Linked DNA regions of Homo sapiens: all the other regions are linked to region 1. Evidence: promoter capture Hi-C in human tissues and cell types (Jung and others, 2019). All regions are on one chromosome and are shown on one strand. The core of a region is centred on a gene start or on the middle of the fragment in contact, and the rest is flanking DNA. Distances in the headings are between cores, read along the strand shown. Region 1 holds the start of CCDC62 (coiled-coil domain containing 62). Region 2 overlaps RILPL2 (Rab interacting lysosomal protein like 2). Region 3 overlaps SBNO1 (strawberry notch homolog 1). Region 4 holds the start of DIABLO (diablo IAP-binding mitochondrial protein).

Region 1 (5,258 bases), core at 1,741-4,240:
TTTTAAAAACAGATGCTGACAGTAAGTGATTTTAAACTTTTTATTACTACATAAAAGCCAGTCTGTGGTAGCTTTCTCACTCTTAGTTTAAAAGTTGATAAATTACTGTTTTAAAGATGAATTTTACCTTTTAGTTCCCTGTTCTCATTATTTACTAAATTCCTTTACCTAGGAAATCAAATAGGGAGACTGGGAAAAGTTCATTCAGAACTTCAGTTTGGATTAGACTGTGTGAGTATAAAATCAGATGCAGTGTAATTCTTGTAGCTTTCACCTCTGTCATATTTTTAAAGTTATGTATTCTCTTTAATTTTTTTTGTTGTTGTTGTTTTAATGAAAACCTGTGGGGAGCGAAGGTAAAAACTTGAGATTTTTAATTTGTACCTTGCCATCATAATCCTCTTACTATACTCAGTTACTATTTATGAACCATAATCAAAATGAGCCTAATTTCTTACTATTCTAGATACACACAATTTTATTCATTTTTGAGACAGAGTCTCGCTCTGTTGCCCAGGCTGGAACGCAGTGGCATGATCACAGCTCACTGCAGCCTTGATCTCCCAGCCTCAAGTGATCCTCCCACTTCAGCTTCTGGAGTGGCTGAGACCACAGGCACATGCCACCATACCCAGCTAATTTTTAAATTTTTTATAGAGATGGGGGGTCTCCCTATGTTGTCCAGGCTGGTCTCAAACTCCTGAGCTCAAGCTATCCTCCCACCTCAGCCTCCCAAAGTGCTGGGATTACAGGTGTGAACCACCACACCCAGCCTGTACATGTATTTTTACTTGAGTGTCACACATGGTTGCCTGGTGAACAATGGCACTCGAGGACTTTCTAGAAAAATATCAAGTCTTAACAATGGTGAAACCTAAGAAACGTGAATTAAAACACTCCTCACTTCAAAAATTGACATTCAACCCACATTCCTTTACATCTCATCACCACCAACTTACTGCAGTCATCTACTGCTAGACTGTTTTTAGCAAATACCCACCCAGAATTTGCTTTGTTGATTTATTTATTTATTTTTATTTTTTTGCATTTCTGTAATGATCAGGGAAGTAGACCACCTTTTTGTATTTATTGGCTATTTGGTTTTGGGTTTTGGTGGTAGTGGTGGTTGGTGTTTTTTTGTTTTTTTTTTTTTTTGATACGGAGTGTCCCTCTATTGCCTAGGCTGGAGTGAGGTGGCGCAGTCTTGGCTCACTGTAACCTCCATCTCCTGCATTCAAGCGATTCTCCTGCCTCAGCCTTCCGAGTAGCTGGGACTATGGGTGCGCACCACCACACGTGGCTAGTTTTTGTTTGTTTGTTTGTTTGTTTGATTTTTAGTAGAGACAGGGTTTCGTTGTATTGGCTAGGCTGGTCTCAAACTTCTAATCTCATGATCCATCCTCCTCGGCCTCTCAAAGTGCTGGGATTACAGGCGTGAGCCACCACGTCTGGCCTGATTTTTGTTTTTTTGAGTCAAGGTCTCACTCTCGATCGGACTGGAATGCAGTGGCATGATCACAGCTCATTGGAGCCGCCATCTCCCAGCTCAAGTCAGCCTCGTGAGTAGCTGAGACCACAGGAGTGCACCACCACGCCCAGTTTAAAAAAAAATTTATTTTTTGGCCAGGTGCGGTAGCTCACACCTGTAATCCCAGCACTTTGGGAGGCTGAAGTGGGTGGGTCAACTGAGGTCAGGAGTTCGCGACCAGCCTGGCCAAGGTAGTGAAACCCATCTCTACTAAAAATACAACAAAGGTGGCGTGGTGGCGGGCACCTGTAATCCCAGCTACTCGGGAGGCTGAGGCAGGAGATTTGCTTGAGGCCAGAGGCAGAGTTTGCAGTGAGCCGAGATTGTGCCATTGCACTCCAGCTCAGGCAACAAGAGCCAGACTCCATCTCAAAAAAAAAAAAAAAAAAAGTTTTTTAGAGGTGGGTGTCACCATGTTGCTCAGGCTGGTCTCAAACTCCTGAACGCAACAGATCCTCCTACATTGGCCTCCCAAAGTGCTGGGGTTACAGGCCACTGCGCCCAGCTTTCTTGATTTTAAATTCTAAGACATTGCTTTGGTCTCCCAAACATGAGCCTATCAGTAAAGCTTCAAAATAAGAAATCTTAATTTTGTTTTTCCATTTTCAGATTGTATTTTTTGAACACAAGGGCATGTTTTGGCATTTCATATTCAACCAAAAAGTAAAGTTGAAACCCTGTAAGACCGACCGTATTTAGTAATTGTGTTGCTGTCTGATGGGTTAAGCATTCAGGGATGGGCAGCCGGGGCTGAAGTGTGATAAGCCTTATTTTTTCCTAGTCCCGTTCCCACATCTTAGGAAGAGTGAAAGGGGGATGAAGAGGTGACTATGGAAGAACAGGTGAAAAAGCTTAGATTCAACCCAGAATATCGTAGATTTTGTCATGACAAAGTACCGTGGTTCTCCTCATTGCTTTTCAGGAGCTCCCAAGAGTAAATTTCCCCCTCTTCATCTGTGATTCTTGGTTTAAAGTATCAAAGGTGCTAGGGTAGCCCGCAACTGTTATCCCCGAGGGCTGGGCTCTGCCTCCACGCATTCGAGTGTCAGGTCCTGTTCTGGGAGCCAGCTACACAGGAGCGAGCACGGCCGAGCTCACGGTTATTAGGGGGAAGATGGAAGATAGGGAAGTGAGCAACTCAAATGTCATAAACCAGAGTGCTGGGGGCGGCGCAGCAGCCTTTATTGACTTCTTCATTCTCTGGGTAGTGGTGAACAGCCGGTTCTTTCAGGCCTTCCAGCGCCGGAGCCTCGGGCGTGGGCAAAAAGCGTCCATACGCAGCCTGAGCCACTTGGGAGCCCCCAGTTTCCGAGGCAGAAGAACAGTGCCCACCAGCGCAGCGGGGCTGCGGCCCGGAAACCCTGGCGGGGAGCCCCGAGCCCCGGCGGGCGCACGCCGCGTGGGCACCAGGCAGGCGGTTGGAGTACGGGGCGGGGGTCGGCCGAGGGCGCGGGGCCCCGGGGCTCCGGGCTCGCCCCCGCCGCTCGGGGCAGGCGCGCCGATGGCGTTTCTGAGGTGACGCCGCCCACACCGGGCTTCTCCGGGGGCGGAGGAAACACCTATGAACCCTCCGGCAGCCTTCCTTGCCGGGCGCCAGGTAAGCAGCGGTTCCGGGCGCGGCGGGGCGCCGCGGGAACGGTGCACATTGGTCGAAATCTATTGCTTCTCAAGAACGGTGTCTACTTAAAATGTGAAACAGGCCGGGCGCGGTGGCTCACGCCTGTAATCCCAGCGCTTTGGGAGGCGGAGGCGGGCGGATCACGAGGTCAGGAGATCGAGACCATCCTGGCTAACACAGTGAAACCCCGTCTCTACTAAAAATAAAAAAAAAAAAATTAGCCGGGCGTGGCGGCGGGCGCCTGTAATCCCAGCTACTCGGGAGGCTGAGGCAGGAGAATGGCGTGAACCCGGGAGGCAGAGCTTGCAGTGAGCCGAGATCGCGCCACTGCACTCCAGCCTGGGCGACAGAGCGAGACTCCGTCTCAAAAAAAAAAAAAAAAAAAAAAAGTGAAACAATACACTAGAGGAAAACGGCGTCACGACCGTTTCCTTAACCCAATAACACCTTGTTATTCAGCCCGGGCCACAGAGTAGCGCGTACCCGGTGCTTACTGTTTAAGGAGGACGATTGGCGTCTGGGGAGCTGCTTTCCCATTTACCTCTCAGGGTGTCCTTAATTTACACAACCTGGCGAGTAGAGGAAGGAGCTCTCACAACTCCACTGTACCAAAAAGTCTGGAAGTGGGCTTGCCCAAGGTTCGCGTCCATCAGTGTAAGACGACCTGCCTTTGTGTACTCGGCTTACTGCCTGTTTTCCTGGAGTGGAATATGTGCTCCTTGCCTGGAGGTCTGTGGCCCAGCCACTGGCGCTCAATAAATTATTTGTTGAGTGCATGAATGAAGGGCTAACCCAACACTGGAATTCAAGCCTTGGGACTTGAAATCCCTTGACTCCAAATTCCATTTTCCTTGTTAAGACTAGCAACTGTAATTTATTCATCATTCTTATTTATTTATTTTTGAGACAGGGTCTGGCTCTGTCCCCAGGGCTGGAGTACAGTGACGCAATGTCGGCTTACTGCAGCCTCTGCTTCCCGAGTTCAAGCAATCCTCCCGCCTCAGCCTCCCAAATAGCTGGGACTACAGGCTCCCACCACCATGCCGAGCTAATTTTTGTGTTTTTAGTAGAGACAGGGTTTCGCCATGTTGGCCAGGCTGGTCTCGAACTCCCGACCTCAGGTGATCTGCCCACCTCGGCCTTCCAAAGTGCTGGGATTACAGGCGTGAGCCACTGAGCCCAACCTCATTATTCTTGTTTATTTACAAATCTTACTTTTCAAAAAGCAGTAAGGAGGTACAAAGGGCCTCTGTTGAACCTTTAATTACTGTCTTTAAGGTGGAACTCTATTAAAGTAACACTTTTAGTTGTTTATTTCATAGGCAGGGACAGCACCATGATTTGAAATGTGGTTTACAGTGTTAATGAGAGCTGATGTTTGTTGAGTGATTACAACGGGCCAGGCTTTGTGCTCAGTACTTTACAGAGTTTGTCTTGTTTAATCTTCACCACTCCAAGATGTTAAAATGCAGTTGCTATCGTTTTACAGGTGAGGAAACTAATGCTTAGAGAAGTTAAGTAACTTGCCCAAGGTTATGTAGCCACTAAGTGGCTAATTCTGGGATCACAATTTGGTCAGGCCAACTTGTTAGATTTTAAAATGCTGTATACTTCAAAGAAATTATTGTATTAATAGATAATATTGTTAGATATAAAAATGGCATCATGGTTATATAGGAAATGTTCATTTTTAGAGATGCATTCTGAAGTATGTAAGGGTGAAATGGTATTTTTTAACCAATAATGAAAAGAAAAGGACATTGAAGCAGCCGCAGTGAAATCTCAATAATGGTAGAACCCAGGCACAGAGTATATGGGAGTTTATCGTACTATTGTCTTTGGGTACATGTGAAAGATTTCCTTACATAATTTATTTTTTAATGATGTATGTTGTATTTGGATCAGTTACAATATTAAATTGCCCTTAATAGATTGAGTATGTATAGATGCCTTAGATGTTGTAGTTGTCATGCATATTGAACACTGGAAGACTTAATTTTCTTTTTATAGACTAAAATTCCCATTGTTTAGTAAGGATCATTTACATTTAAACAGTAACTATTTCGTGATTTTGTTTGGTTTTTTTTGATAGAGTTTTGCTCTTGTTGCCCA
Region 2 (5,258 bases), core at 905-3,404, 640 kb after region 1:
AGCTCCGCGCCCGGGCCTTGGAATCAGGCCTGCATTTGCCTCCTGGGCAAGCTGCTTCCTAGCTCCACAGCCAGAGTTTCAGTTTCTAAACCTATAAACTGGCCGGGCACGGTGACTCACGCCTGTAATCCCAGCACTTTGGGAGGCCGAGGAGGGCGGATCATGAGGTCAGGAGTTCGAGACCAGCCTGGCCAATATGGTGAAACCCCGTCTCTACAAAAATACAAAAATTAACCCAGTGTGGTGGCATATACCTATAGTCCCAGCTAGTCGGGAGGCTGAGGCAGGAGCATCGCTTGAATCTGGGAGGCAGAGATTGCAGTGAACCCAGATGGTGCCACTGCACTCCAGCCTGGGCGATAGAGCAAGACTCCGTCCCCACCACCCCCCAAAAAAAAGCCGGGTGCGGTGGCTCACGCCTGTAATCCCAGTGTGTCCGGAATTGGTGGGTTCTTGGTCTCACTGACTTCAAGAATGAAGCCGCGGACCCTCGCGGTGAGTGTTACAGTTCTTAAAGGTGGCGTGTCCAGAGTTTGTTCCTTCTGATGTTCAGATGTGTTCGGAGTTTCTTCCTTCTGGTGGGTTCGTGATCTCGCTGGCTCAGGAGTGAAGCTGCAGACCTTCGTGGTGAGTGTTACAGCTCTTAAGGCGGCGCGTCTGGAGTTGCTCGTTCCTCCTGGTGGGCTCCTGGTCTCCCTAGCTTCAGGAGTGAAGCTGCAGACCTTCGGGGTGAGTATTACAGCTCATAAAAGCAGTGTGGACCCAAAGAGTAAGCAGTAGTAAGATTTATTGCAAAGAACAAAAGAACAAAGCTTCCACAATGCGGAAAGGAACCCGAGCGGGTTGCCACTGCTGCCTGGGGCAGCCTGCTTTTATTCTCTTATCTGGCCCCACCCACATCCTGCTGATTGGTAGAGCCAAGTGGTCTGTTTTGACAGGGCGCTGATTGGTGCGTTTACAATCCCTGATCTAGACACAAAGGTTCTCCACGTCCCCACCAGATTAGCTAGATACAGAGTGTGGACACAAAGGTTCTCCAAGGCCCCACCAGAGTAGCTAGATACAGAATGTCGATTGGTGCATTCACAAACCCTGAGCTAGACACAGGGTGCTGATTGGTGTGTTCACAAACCTTGAGCTAGATACAGAGTGCCGATTGGTGTATTTACAATCCCTGAGCTAGACACAAAGGTTCTCCACGTCCCCAGCAGACTCAGGAGCCCAGCTGGCTTCACCCAGTGGATCCCGCACCGGGGCTGCAGATGGAGCTGCCTGCCAGTCCCGTGCCCTGTGCCTGCACTCCTCAACCCTTGGGTCGTTGATGGGACTGGACACCATGGAGCAGGGGGTGGGGCTCGTGGAGGAGGCTTGGGCCGCACAGGAGCCCACGGAGGGGGTGGGAGGCTCAGGCATGGCGGGCTGCAGGTCCCGAGCCCTGCCCCACGGGAAGGCAGCTAAGGCCCGGCGAGAAATCGAGCGCAGCGCCGGTGGGCTGGCACTGCTGGGGGACCCAGCACACCCTCAGCAGCCGCTGGCCCGGGTGCTAAGCCCCTCATTGCCCGGAGCCGGCAGGGCCCGCCAGCTGCTCCGAGTGCGGGGCCCACCAAGCCCACGCCCACCCGGAACTCCAGCTGGCCCGCAAGCGCCCCGCGCAGCCCCGGTTCCCGCTCGCGCCTCTCCCTCCACACCTCCCTGCAAGCTGAGGGAGCGGGCTCCGGCCTTGGCCAGCCCAGAAAGGGGCTCCCACAGTGCAGCGGTGGGCTGAAGGGCTCCTCAAGTGCCGCCAAAGTGGGAGCCCAGGCAGAGGAGGCGCCGAGAGCGAGCGAGGGCTGTGAGGACTGCCAGCACGCTGTCACCTCTCACCAGCACTTTGGGAGGCTGAGGCGGGTGGATCACGAGGTCAGGAGATCGAGACCATCCTGGCTAACACGGCGAAACCCTGTCTCTACTAAAAATACAAAAAAATTAGACGAGTGTGGTGGCAAGTGCCTGTAGTCCCAGCTACTCAGGAGGCTGAGGCAAGAGAATGGCGTGAACGTAGGCAGCAGAGCTTGTAGTGAGCCGAGATCGTGCCACTGCACTCCAGACTGTGCGACAGAGCGAGAGACTCCGTCTCAAAAAAAAAAAAAAAAAAAATCTATAAACTGGTGCACCGGTACCGGTCCCCATCTCCCCAGGTTATGAGGAACAAATGAGATAATCCACAGAGCAGGCGAAACACATTGAGTAAGCCACTGTTATTTACTAAGAAGACAGGCTCACGGAATGGTTGCGGCAGCCTCATTAGTTCCTTTGCGAAGTGCAGACACCCGCTCTCTGTTTCATTGATTCCTAAATGCATTTTGTTCACATCTTAACACCTCTGAAATCAGGATGAGTCCTAAAATCGATAGCTTCTTAACATTTTAGTTTGCAGCAATCTTTCCCTTCATAGTGACACCAGATAATCGTGCATCGCTTAGACTGAATGAATGCAATTGATTCATTATACAATGAAATGTAGATATATGACATATACACACATATACCATGTGTACCATCGTAACTAAGAGACCACTCTAGATAAGCTATAGAAAGTATAAAAATCATTTTACTTTAATACAAAATCACATAAAGAAAGGCATGTTGGCTAAATCAAATATTCACTAAATATCAGTGAAGTCACCACTGGAATCTCAATAGCACATTTTCCTGCTTTCTTTTCTCCCTTCTGCTAACCATTGAAGACCAGGGTCATCCGTGGGAGCAGATGAGTAGGACACGCGTCTGCACGCTGGAGGCCCTGGGGGTTGACATGGGAGCAGGAAGTGGACCCCCCCACCCTGCACATCCCTTCTGTTTTTCTTGATTTCAGTCTCACTGGCCCAGGCCAAATCTTCAAGGGTGTCTAGTTCTGCAGCCAGGGAGAAAGTGATGCCAAGAGAACCTCGTCTCCTCCCTCCTCAGTCTGCTTTGAAGGGGAAATAAATACACAGGCCTAGTGTGTCTGTGTGGCACAGGGAGGTGGTTTTGCCAGGCATCTTGGAAGGTTGTCTTCTAGAATCAGAGCCATAGCCTTACTTGTGGCCTTGGATCTAGGTCTGTTTCCCCGATCGAAAAAAGAACCTGGTGTGGAGAGAGAGAGGGTTCAGGGTAAGCAGAAGGAACAAAGCAAGGGGCACAGCAACCCCCGTAAAATTTCTAAGTAGCTCTTGCAGCTGTTGACTCAAAAATATGTCCAGGCCAGGCATTGTGGCTCACGCCTGTAATCCTATGATTTTGGGAAGCTGAGGCAAGAGGATGAGGATCACTTGATCCCAGGAGTCTCAGACATGCCTGGGCAGCATAGTGAGACCCCATCTCTAAAAAAAAAAAAAAATTAACCAGGCGTGGTGGCATACACCTGTAATCCCAGCTACTCAGGAAGCTGAGGCAGGAGAATCGCTTGAACCCGGGACGCAGAGGTTGCAGTGAGCCGAGATTGCGCCACTGCACTCCAGCCTGGGCGACAGAGCAAGACACTATCTCAAAAGAAAAAGAAAAAGCAAAAAAACCCCAAAAAACCCGGGTGCGGTGGCTCATGCCTGTAATCCCAGCACTTTGGGAGACGGAGGCAGGCAGATCATGAGGTCAGGAGATCGAGACCATCCTGGCTCACACGGTGAAACCCCGTCTCTACTAAAAATACAAAAAATTAGCCGGGTGTGGTGGCGGGCGCCTGTAGTCCCAGCTGCCTCGGGAGGCTGAGGCAGGAGAATGGCATAAACCCGGGAGGCGGAGCTTGCAGTGAGCCAAGATGGTGCCACTGCACTCCAGCCTGGGTGACAGATTGAGACTCCGTCTCAAAAACAAAAACAAAAAAACACATTCATTCGTTCATTCATTCACTCATTGATTCTAGTAGCTCATTAAGTTTATCTGACCCTGAAAGGGTGGCCTCACGCTCATTAGCCACTAGCCACATGTCCTCAGGCTAGCTCATGCACAGAACACACATTTCACTTTTGCTCTATTAGGCTCAAACTCCAATTAGGTGTCCTAAGCTCCCGTAGAAGGACGCTGAAAGAAACCAGTAGTTTATGCCTTCTGGAAGCCTGATTTGCAACAAGACAGCCAATGAAAGTCCTAAATGAACACCTTCACTTCGGACACCTGGGTGGAGGTGCTCTTTCATTATCTTACCTCAGAAGACCCTTCCTTGTGGAAGAAACACTTCCATTAGGCTGGGTGCAGTGGCTTACACCCGTAATCCTAGCACATTGGGAGGCTGAGGCGGGCGGATTGCTTGAGCTCAGGAGTTCCAGACCAGCCTGAGAAACGTGGAGAAACCCCATCTTTACCAAAAATACAAAAATTAGCTGGGCATGATGGTGAACACCTGTGGTCCCAGCTACTCGGGAGGCTGAGGTGGGAGGATCGCTTGAAACTGGGAGGCGGAGGTTGCAGTGAGCTGAGATCAAGCTACCGCACACCAGCCTGGGTGACAGAGTGAGACCCCATCTCAAAAAAAAAAAAAGGAAAAAAGAAACACCCCCATTGGCCTTACTTTGACCCTGTCTCCCAACCCTTCTCCACAAGGCAACCAGAGTGAGCTTTTTGTACATAAATACGGTCATGTTACTCTCCAGCTTAAAACCATCCAATGTCTCTTCCCAACGTACCTAGAATAAAACCCACAGTCAGCACCAGAAAGAATCCACGTGGCCCTGGGTGACCCAGCCCCTCCCACCTCTCCAATCCCACCTCCATTCTCTTCCCTGTTCCAGTCACCATGGTCTTCTGTTCTGAAAATTTCTTTTTTTTTTTGAGACAGAGTTTCACTGTGGTTGCCCAGGCTCAAGTGCAATGGCACGATCTCGGCTCACGGCAACCTCCGCCTACCAGAGTTCAAGCAATTCTCCTGCCTCAGCCTCCTGAGTAGCTGGGATTACAGGCATGCGCCACCACGCCCAGCTAATTTTGTATTTTTAGTAGAGATGGGGTTTCTCCATGTTGGCCAGGTTCGTCTCGAACTCTGGGCCTCAGGTGATCTGCCCGCCTTGGCCTCCCAAAGTGCTGGGATTACAGGCGTGAGCCACTGTGCCTGGCCTGTTCTGGGAATTTCTGTAGCCTGAAGCTCTTACACTTACTGTCCCGTCTACCAGGAATGCTCTTTTGTTTTGGTGGGAGACGGGATCTTGCTCTGTCATCCAGGCTGGAGTGTAGTGGTGTGACCATGGCCTACTGTAGCCTGGACCTCTTGTGCTCAAGAGATCCTCCCAAGTAGCTGGAACTACAGG
Region 3 (5,258 bases), core at 1,894-4,393, 560 kb after region 1:
CCCATCTCTACTAAAAATACAAAAATCAGCCAGGCATGATGGTGCACACCTGTAATCCTAGCTACTCAAGAGGCTGAAGCACGAGAATTGCTAGAATCCAGGAGGGATCCTGGGAGGTGGAGGTTGCAGTGAGGCAAGAGCATGCCACTGCACTCCAGACTGAGTAAAGAGCCAGACCCCGTCTTAAAAAGAACATATTTTACTTTGAAAAGTATTCGAAAGACAACTTGGCTATAAAATTTAACAACCAAGTCCCCAAAATGTACAACATGAATACATTAAAATAATGATCTGGAAGCTTTTTCTGTAAAGGGTCAGAGAATGATTTTGCCGTTTTAGGCCATCCTGTCTCTTGTACAACTACTTAACATTGCTGCTGTAGTGTCAACGCAGCCATAGATAATAAGTAAACCAATAAACATGTCTATGTTCCAATAAAACCTTATTTACTATAAAAAAGCGAGTGGTCCAGATTTAGTTTGCTGTCCTCTGGTTTAAAGGGCCATAAACTCTTTCAATCCTTTTGCAAAATGATTATTGGAATAAGAAAAACAGAATTTCAGATAGGACTTCTAAAATTCATTGTAGGTGAGCAGAAAAGGATGGAATCTTGAGTCTATCAGTAGTTGATAAAAAGAGAATTGTAGTTCAATTCAAATGGTATTATTAGTGGTTTTTTATAGAAACCAAGACTACATGAAAGACAAATTCTAGACATAGATTTGTTTCCTGTAATGAAAAAGTGAAAATTTTATGCAAATATTAAAAACCTAATTTTCGACTTCATACAGTGGCTGCTAAAAAAAGAACCATGTTATACAAAAGGGAGAAACAAAAACTATGGAATTCAAATAGCACAATTATTTTTATAATTTCAATGTTTTTACAATTTTAGACAAGTTGTATTAAATATCTTAGCTTTATATATCTTTACAATTACCTTTGATTTTTATAATCACTACTCCTATGAACAAAATTAAAATAAAATCCAAGCTTCTTTAGTTTTGGTTTTAAAAGACTTTGACCTAAAGCAAGATTCTAAATTTATATGGAAAAAAACAAAACAAAAAGAACCAAAGAAACCACAGGAAAACTTTGATGTAAATATCTGACAAATCCCGAAGACATACATTTTATTGGCATGTATTCTGCATAGGTTTCTGCATGACCCATTTCTTCTTCATCTTCTTCCTCTGGTTCATCATCTTCTTTTACAACAGGAACCTTCTGCAACACAGAAAGAGCACAATCAATCCCAAATCCAGGGACCAGACGCCCAGCCAACACACAGAAAAACTCTCTTGTAGGAACACCTACAAATTTCCATCATGGAAACATGACGCGCCACCTCAATACTCCCTAAAATCTGGGCCACACTTCGTGGCTTTCCTGCTTCTCCAATAATGAGCACAGACAATGAGGTCCTACTCTGTCTCTTACCCACAAATGGGTCACAAGACTCCACGTCCTTCCGGCCACCATCGTGTCAAGCTACTTTCCCCTTCAATACTGCCTATCACCCCTCCTTGATGCCCAGAACTCTCTCTGCACTCAGACTTCGCCTTCATTCTAGTTCCAGGAGAAAGAGCAAGCAGTGTGTCTGGCTCTTCCTAGTGCAAAACTGGAGTGAACCCTAGCAAAGGTGGATTGGCCCCAAAGGACCCTGCATCACCACAAGCAAGGCCTCTCAGTCTCACATTCCACCTTCTTCTCAGTTCACTTCTATTTGCCTGCTTTCCCGCATATCCTAAAACCAAAACCCCAGAAGACTGGAGTTTATTTTAGAGGCCCTTATGAAGAACAGAAAAATTTACTTCAGACTTCTGTGTCTCCACAGATGCAATCGTGATCATATATAAGATGGCCATATAATTTATTTTCCAAACCCTGGCACATTTGAGTTGGGGAGCTATTGAGGATTACACTGAGAAAACAGAAGTAAACCCAGACTGTCCTCGGCAAACCAAGTGAATGGTCACCACGGTTATGCTTCCCTTTTCTTCCTCTACAGGATCTTAAAGGAATAAAGGAAGATCCGGAATAAGCCACTTTTCACTACCAGTACAATCATTAGGCAACTGTTTATTAGCATGCACTTGTTCAGGGAAGAATATAAAGAAACTGTTGTGAAACTCAGTATGCCAAGGGAAGAGGACAACAAAAACCTACAGGTTAAGGCAAATTAAGGCAAGATCGAGACAGCATTAAAAGTGAAGGACAGGCTCTTTTTTCATTTACCTCAGAATCTAGAGCAGAATATGGTTGCAAATAGATAACAAACGTGAAAAGGAAAAGAAGTGGGACATAACCATCCAATCAACATTAACCTATGGAGTCTTTAGATAAAATCTAAAAACTTGGAATGTTCTCAGAAATTATGCTAAAATAAAACTCAATTTCGGAAATTCGAGACAAAACAGGACTGGCCAAATGAATAGATTTGAATCCCAATTCTGCTGTTATTTAATTGTGTAGTCTGTTTTTTAATTTAGGCAAATTACCTAAATTCTGGGTCCTCTCCACCCCCACCGTCTAACCCTGTCCTCGCTTATAAAATAAAAATGTATTCTATGTTAAGATAAGCAGCCTCCTTTCTCCCTCCATCCTTTATTCTCCTACCTATAGTTTTTTAAAATCATCATAAAATTGATGATAATTGAATAACTGAAGGATAAGTTGGTAATACTGAAGGACCACTATATCCAGGGAACAAACAAGTAATACCTTGAAGCCAGGTGCATGTGAGATAGCAACTGACATCAAATTTAGGTCAAAGAGATAACTCGGGTGAGGGAGACCACGGTACCTGGGAAATGTTTGCCCAACATACCATGTAGATGTTCACTACACAACGCTGGGCAAATCTTCCTAGATGGGGAACGTGGGCCTGGGGTTGTCAGGTACTCCCATTTTTCAAAATAACCGGGAAATCAGGATTTGTATATGTCAGCAAACAAATTCAAAATTCTTCAAAATACCATGAAGGCCAAACAAAATACATTTGTCAGCCAGGCATGGTGGCTCACGCCTGTAATCCCAGCACTTGGGCAAGCAGGGGTGGGCGGATCACCTGAGGTCAGGAGTTCAAGACCAGCCTGGCCAACATGGCAAAACCCCGTCTCTACTAAAAAATACAGGCCAGGCACAGTGGCTCACGCCTGAAATCCCAGCACTTTGGGAGGCCGAGGCGGGTGAATCACGAGGTCAGGAGTTCAAGACCAGCCTGGCCAAGGTAGTGAAACCCCATCTCTATTAAAAAATACAAAAGAAAATTAGCAGGGCGTAGTGGCGGGCGCCTGTAATCCCAGCTACTTGGGAGGCTGAGGAAGAGAATTGCTTGAGCCCGGGAAGGGGAGGTTGCAGTGAGCCAAGACTGCACCAATGCACTCCAGCCTGTGACAGAGCGAGACTCCATCTCAAAATAAATAAACAAAATAAAAGAAACAAAAATTATCTGGGTGTGGTGGTGGTGGTGGGGGGCGCCTGTAATCCCAGCTGCTCAGGAGGCTGAGGCAGAAGAATCACTTGAACCTGGGAGGCAGAAGTTGCAGTGAGCTGAGATTGCACCACTGCCCTCCAGCCTGGGTGACAGCAAGACACCGTCTAAACACACACACACACACACCCCGACACACACACACACACACGCCCCCCCCCCCCTCCCCGACTAGTTTGGTTGATGGGCTATCAGTTTGCAGTCTCTCTGAGATGTTACTTAACTGCTAAGCCAATAAAAAACTTTTGGTATATAATGGACTGAAATGGAAATGTGAGAACCACATAAAACATTTCTTGAAGAAATATGCATTCTTAGTTTCCAAAAATCACCTTCCAAGTGCTGTTGGTAGACAATCACTAAGTAAACTGGGTACCGCCAGTAGCACTATTGTTCTCCTGGTTCCCATTCAAAACCTCAGCTACAGTTTGCTGCACTGTCTCCAATTCCATATTCTAGAACCAAGTCCCAAAATTCTTTTGGTATCGTTATGTACAGTCATCTCTTTTTTTCCTTTCCCCTCTCCGTTTTTCAATCCCCTCTGCAAGGTCTCTAGTACCCCTTCTTACTTCCCCCTTAGGTTAACCAACTTTCCAACCTCTCTCTTTTGCCTACTCCTACTCATCCCGAATCTGTCTTCCCTACCCCTTTACTCAGTCTGCACCCCAACTTCTCCTGAATCACTAACAGGTCCCTCCATGTCTACTGGCTCAATGGTGCTAGACTAAGTCCAAAGTCCTTCAAACTCAATTCAGCACAGGGCACCTTGGCCTCCCAGCACTTTGGGAGGCCGAGCTGGAGGGATCACTTGAGGTCAGGTATTCGAGACCAGCCTGGCCAATGTGGTAAAACCCCGTCTCTACTAAAAACACAAAAATTAGCCAGGGCTGGTGGTGGGCACCTGTAATCCCACCTACTCAGGAAGCTGAGGCAGAAGAATCGCTCGAACCTGGGAGGCGGAGATTGCAGTGAGCCAAGATTGCACCACTACACTCCAGCCTGGTCAACAGAGCAAGACTCCATCTCAAAAACAACAACAACAATAAAAACCTCAATTCAGGACCCTCCATGGAGCCCAGACCTACTATTCCCACTTCTTTCTACAAGCTAAGCTTCCTGGCTTATTTTCACCGAAGCACATACTCACTACCTCCCCTCTGTGCCCATTAATCCTTTAGCTCCCTTCCTAATATCCCACCTCAAAGTCTCGTCATACTCAAAACCCAAGCTCCATTATTCCCTCTCCATAAAGTCCACCAGGCCACTAGAGTTCAGGAAGGTCACCTCTTCCTCCAAATTCCTAACCTTTATTGTGAGTAGCACATTGCATACCATTTGATGTACTTTTCATTATTACTACTTAATCCAGATGGTTGTCAAATTTTGCTTACTGAAGGTAGAATCATGTAATAAATATACTTCTTGTAGAAACCTACTACATATTAACAATGTTATACATGGAGAATTTATTAAATAAATGTATGGAATCAATTGATCCAAAGCATACAGCATTTTCAAAATGTTAAGAATTCTAACCAGGCCGGGTGCAGTGGCTCACGCCTGTAATCTCAGCACTTTCGGAGGCTGAGGCGGGCAGATTACCTGAGGTCAGGAGTTCGAGACCATCCTGGCCAACATGGTGAAACCCCATTTCTACTAAAAATACAAAAATTAGCCAAGCATGGTGGCACATGCCTGTAATCCCAGCTACTTGAGAGGCTGAGGTGGGAGAATCACTTGAACCTGGGAGGTGGAGGTTACA
Region 4 (5,258 bases), core at 1,618-4,117, 550 kb before region 1:
AGCACCTTGGGATGCCGAGGCGTGTGGATCGCCTGAGGTCAGGGGTTCGTGACCAGCCTCACAAGCATGGAGAAACCCCATCTCTACTAAAAATACAAAAACTAGCTGGGTGCGGTGGCACACCCCTGTAATCCCAGCTACCCGGAGGCTAAGGCATGAGAATTGCTTGAACCTGGGAGGCGGAGGTTGCAGTGAGCCAAGATTGTGCCATTGCACTGCAGCCTGGCAACAGAGTGAGACTCTGTCTTTAAAAAAAAAAAAAAAAAATATCTTCTGCGGCTTCTTTTTCAGAAAACCCAAAGCCTTACAACAATGGCCCACAAAATACAAAGGACACAATCTGATTATCAGTTAACTCTCTGGCTTCATCTATTACGGTCTCCCCCATTCGCCTCCAGACACATTAGCTCCATGCTCCTCAGACATACCAGGCATACTTCTGCTTCTAGGTCTTTGTCCTTCTGAGTTCCTTCTGCCTGGCAAGCTCCTCCCCGCACCAGATAGTATAATGGCTCTTTCAGAACATTCAGATCTCTACTTCGCCTTATCAGAGTAGCTTGACCACCTTTATCTAAAACAAAACTCCCTCCCAGAATTGCCTATTCACTTACCTCATTTGTTTTGTTTTGTTTTTGAGAAAAGGTCTTGCCCTGTCACCCAGGCTGGAGAGCAGTGGTGAGATCATAGCTCACTGCAGCCTCAAACTCCTGGGCTCAAGTGATCTTCCTGCCTCAGCCTCCTGAGTAGTTGCCACTAGAAGTGTGAGCCACCACACCCGGCTAAATTTTTCTGTTTTGTAGAGACAGAGTCTCCCTATGTTGACTAGGCTGGTCTCAAACTCCTGAGCTCAAGCCATCCTCCCACCTCAGCCTCCCAAAGCCCTGGGCATCAGCCACTGTGCCCGGCCCTGTTTTCTTCCCACCATTTATCACCAGCTGATATTTTATATTTTATCCTCTTTCATCTCCACAAAGCTTTTGTGAGAACAAGAATTTTTTGTTGTTCATTCTTACATTCTCAGTGTCTTGCACATAAAAGTTGCTCAATAAATTTCTGTTGAATCAAAGACTACTTTGTTGATAGACTGTAATATCCTCTTATTTCTCTCTACTCGCTTTATACAATTTGATGTGCTGTTCCTACCAAATGAGATAATCAAAATGAGAATATTAATATATCTGCTCAACTGTGAAAAGATGCCGGTACTGTGGGGGAAGGGATGGGAGCACTGGGAAAAACTATGGTAGCTTGTCTAATGCTTCACCGCCCACTTGAGACTTCAAGAGGACACGGTACACTAGATAAGAATCACTGCACACGACAGTACCTGTGCAATAGGAACCGCACACAGGGTTACTCCAAAGCCAATCGTCACAGTTTTGTGCCATGGTCTTATCAATTCTGAGAAACACCGCTTCTTAAAGTTAGCCACAACAGGAACACACAAACACTGTCTGTACCTGGAAGTAGAAGTCAGATTTCATAAGGCACGACCGCCAATCTGTAACAGGCTCTTGGATTTACTTGCAGGGGCTGTAAACTCAAACTCGAGCCAAGCAGGAACCTAAATGAGGATGCAGGACAGCTGAGGGGTTTTGAAATTTTCAACATACACCAAGTTTAAAATGTTGCCTCAGGCAGGGTGTTGGTGGCTCACGCCTGTAATCCTAGCACTTGGAAGGCCAAGGGCAAGGCGGGAGGATCACTTGAGCCCAGGAGTTCACGACCAGCCTGGGCAACATGGCTGGCAACATGACCCCGTGTCTATTAAAAAAAAATAAGTAAATAAAGGCCGAGGCGGGTGGATCACTTGAGGTCAGGAATTCGAAATCTGCCTGACCAACATGGTGAAACCCCATCTCTACTTAAAACACAAAAATTAGCCCGGAGTGGTGGCACGCTCCTGTAATCCCAGCTACTCGGGAGGCTGAGGCAGGAGAATCGCTTGAACCTGGGAGGCAGAGGTTGCAGTGAGCCGAGAGCGCCCCACTGCACTTCAGCCTGGGCAACAGAGCGAGACTGAGTCTCAAACAAAACAAAAAGAAAAAAAAAAATTAGCCGGGCGTGGTGGCGGGCGCCTGCAATCCCAGCTACTCGGGAGGCTGAGGCTGAGAATCGCTTGAAGCCGGGAGGCACAGGTTGCAGTGAGCTGAGATCTCGCCACTGCACTCCAGCCTGGGCGACAGAGGCAGATCTTGTCTCAAAAAAATTAAAATAAAATAAAATGTTGCCTTTAAACTTTTTAGAAACGGATGCCACAATAACCGCTCCTGCAGGCAGAATTTAGCTCTGGACCCCTGGCCTGGGTGCCAGTTGTGTGTGACGGTCCCGCTACAATCGCCCAGGAGCCTGCAGCGCTAGGTAGAGAGCCCTGCGCCAGCTCCCCCGGCCCCTTCTGCCCTCGGGAGGACGTCTTCAGACGCTCGTCTCCCTTCCCGGACTCCCCCCATGCCGTGTCCCTCCTCCTCTCCACGTCTCCTCAGGGACTTCGAGTGGCTGACGAGGGCTGGTCAGGAGGCGGAGCAGCCCCAAGAAGGCAGCCCGGGGTCTCGGGGACTCGTTTCTAGAAGATGGACGAACTGAAAAGGAAGCCGGGCTTGACCCAGGGGGCGGAGGCGGGGCTGTCCTCAGTCCTCCCGACCGGAGCGAGACGCCGCGACCCAGCTGGGCGGACGAGAGATGAGCGCGTAAGGAAGGCGGGCGCCGTGGGCCGGGCCACAGCGCTGTCCGCGTCGGTCCCTCCCTCTGGTCCTGTCCCCTCTACGCGGCCGCAGCGGTACCTGAAGAATGAAGTTACGCTGCGCGACAGCCAACTCTTCAGAGCCGCCATTGTGCAGCGCGCGGACGCCAGACGCACACGCCGGAAGTGACGCAGCTTCGTGAGCGCGGAGCGGGGCACGGCCTCCACCTGAGAGCGCCTCGCCCCATAGCCACGCCCCCACCCAAGGAAGCAGTCGGGATTGGGCAGGCAGGGGGAAAGGGGGCGAGGCTTAGGGCAAAGGCTGTAACGGCCGCGCAAGGCAACCAACCGCCGGAACTTCCGCGCGGGGCGGGGCATATGCAGGGCCTGAGGGCGCGGAGGTGGGTCCGGCGCGGAGCTGAGTCGGGCGCCGTGACGCTGGCGGGTGGGCGGGGACTCAGTTCGGGCCAGGGCTTGAAGGGAATTTCCTGGTGAGTTAGGGAGGCGGGGCCGGGCGGGAGGCGGGGCCGGGCGGGAGGCGGGGCCGGGCGCGGCGACGGCGCTGTCACTTCAGCACCAGGAAGTAAGTGGTCCAGCCGGCCAGCAGCAGCGCCCCGATGAGCACCGTGTAGCTGAGGAGCACGAAGGCGAGCAGCTCCCGCAGCAGCTGCAGCACGTGGACGGTGGACGAGGCCGGCATCGCGCTGCGCGGGAGCCCCAGGACGGTCGGCGGCCTGCCGGGCTGGCGCCGTCCCAGAGGGGCGGACGGGAACACACGAGGTCCTGGCCCTCGAAACAGCAAACGAAGGCCAGGAAGCCCACAGTGCCGACCTCCCCAACAGCCTCCTGGACGCTCGCTTCTCGGTTACACTGGAGAATCCTTCTCAACCCAAACTGCCCTCGTTCTTCGGCTCTGATCCGGGCTGAGGAGGCAGAAGCCCGGCTCTTCCCCGCGCCCCGCAGCTGCATGAGTTTTCCTCCCTGGCCCGCTCCTCCCACCACCTCCTGCATTTTTAATGCTGTGAGTGCCGCTAATGCGCTGGTGGAGTAAACCTTTCTTTTCCCGTCACTCAAGCTGCAGCCCCAGCTGCGGCCCTGGCTGGAAGGGGAAGGGGAGAGAGACCCATTTGGGCAGGAGGAAGGCACAGGCCCAAACCTGCTCTTCTGTGAGTCCCCTGGCCCCAAGGCTTGCCAGCAGCAGAGCTGGAGGATCTTTGCTTTGTGGTCCAGCATGCTTGCCTTCTGGCCAGCTGGGACTGCAGGGTGCCAGGTGGTGGGTGGGCATCAATCCGATCCTGGGCTCACCCCCGCCACCGTGCTCTGTGCATCTGCCCCAGCCCTGCTAACTTCCACCAGAGACGACATCAGACAGTAAGAACCCCACACCAGCTCATCAGACAGTAGGAACCCTACAACACCTCCAATGCTGCTTTGCCCAGCCACTCCCCACAGTGTCAGGCACTGGCTTCCTTCTCTCCCCACCTCACTTACTTGGCAAAGTTTCCACGAATCTTCCACCCTGAAGCTCCGCGGTTCTGTCTGCTCTGGTGCCCAAAGGTAGCTTGTGTGTATTCTGCGATCTCGGCAGAACTGAGATTTTCAAGCAGCGGCACTCAACAACTAGGTGTGGTCTAGAGACCAATTACAACCTCCGCGTGGTCCCCGAGCTCTCAGGGAGCTGCGCACAGGCGTTCCTAGCCCAGGCGGGGCGCTGGCAACCCTGCCCGCCCTCTGCCTGTGTCGCCACCACAGCCCACAGGGCTCAGATGTGGTTTCACAGACCCAGATGGGCTGAGCAGGCGGCACACTAGTGGGTATTTCAAGCCCCTTCTTGTTTTTTTCTGAACATTGTAAGGGGTTATGGGGTTATAGTGCGAACAGTTTCGTTTCTAACAAACACATTGAGAGCAGTCCCATCTCCTCCGAGTCTGGGCACCAGAAGAACCACTGGACAGTGTTCACTTGCGACCGCCCAACTACTAAAGCAAAAGCTGTTGTCTTAAAAAACATGCAAGTGCAAGCATGCACGGGTGTGAGAACCAAGCTTAAGTGACCGAGATCTCCTGAGTGCTTGATTCCGATTTACAAAGAGTTTTGCAGCTTACAGACTCATTATACAGATACTTTCCCAATGTGACACTTCCAATTTCACCTCCTCACAATGTGAGGCAAAAGGAGCCAGTGAGGATTTCTGCAAAGAACAGACACTTTCCCAGATGCAACAACAAAGGAAACGAAAGCATAAACTATGCTGCTTCTGATTATTTTGCTCGTTGCCGTAGTTTTTAGTTCAAGACTGTTTTCTGACCTTTGAAAAGAGCAGGCAGTGTGGACATCAACCCTTTTATCAACATCATCATCCAGAAGCAAATGGCTCCTTAATTTAATCAGGATCTCTTATTATCAAATTATTGCCTTGGCCACAGTGAGGCTGAAAACAGGAGCAGAACATTATCAAGCTGCTCAGGAAGCCAGTGAGTAGTAATTACTCCCCCAGAGAACTGGTCATCTTCCGTGTCCTACCTAGTGGCAACGGAGTACAGCTGAGATTTATACCCTCCTCCACACCAAAATAATG

What was found. The method cuts DNA at HindIII sites, captures the fragments that hold promoters and counts their contacts. A contact is called where the count stands out against the background at its distance.
Region 2: a fragment that was not itself captured here is called in contact with the fragment with the promoter of CCDC62 in region 1 in 1 of the 25 tissues and cell types used here (spleen).
Region 3: a contact is called between a fragment that was not itself captured here and the fragment with the promoter of CCDC62 in region 1, in 1 of the 25 tissues and cell types used here (psoas muscle).
Region 4: a contact is called between the fragment with the promoter of DIABLO here and the fragment with the promoter of CCDC62 in region 1, in 6 of the 25 tissues and cell types used here (aorta, dorsolateral prefrontal cortex, heart left ventricle and 3 more).

Annotation. Positions count from the first base shown.
Region 1 is chr12:122,771,582-122,776,839 of GRCh38, forward strand. It overlaps CCDC62 (coiled-coil domain containing 62), which reads left to right and starts at 2,991. Exons shown (of 13, transcript NM_201435.5): 1 at 2,991-3,125. The coding sequence starts at 3,090. RefSeq lists silencers at 2,829-3,038, 3,561-3,855 and enhancers at 3,138-3,831, 3,219-3,358. The HindIII fragment of the contact is 10,219 bases long and covers 1-5,258 here.
Region 2 is chr12:123,412,817-123,418,074 of GRCh38, forward strand. RILPL2 (Rab interacting lysosomal protein like 2) reads right to left here. Exons shown (of 4, transcript NM_145058.3): 4 at 2,223-3,105. The coding sequence ends at 3,075. Among named protein-coding and RNA genes, the nearest start is that of RILPL2, 21 kb to the right of the region's middle. The HindIII fragment of the contact is 7,685 bases long and covers 1-5,258 here.
Region 3 is chr12:123,335,265-123,340,522 of GRCh38, forward strand. SBNO1 (strawberry notch homolog 1) reads right to left here. Exons shown (of 32, transcript NM_001167856.3): 6 at 1,131-1,227. Among named protein-coding and RNA genes, the nearest start is that of MIR8072, 27 kb to the right of the region's middle. RefSeq lists a silencer at 51-100. The HindIII fragment of the contact is 4,997 bases long and covers 646-5,258 here.
Region 4 is chr12:122,223,185-122,228,442 of GRCh38, forward strand. DIABLO (diablo IAP-binding mitochondrial protein) reads right to left here and starts at 2,868. Exons shown (of 6, transcript NM_001371333.1): 1 at 2,781-2,868; 2 at 1,328-1,460. The coding sequence starts at 2,830. LOC128125816 reads right to left here and starts at 3,380. Exons shown (of 1, transcript NM_001414998.1): 1 at 3,246-3,380. The coding sequence starts at 3,380. The coding sequence ends at 3,246. LOC101593348 (a long non-coding RNA gene) reads left to right here and starts at 3,258. Exons shown (of 1, transcript NR_103497.1): 1 at 3,258-5,258. RefSeq lists enhancers at 1,270-2,175, 2,585-2,634, 2,645-2,884, 2,938-3,232, 3,182-4,013 and 1 more and a silencer at 3,175-3,314. The HindIII fragment of the contact is 13,255 bases long and covers 1-5,258 here.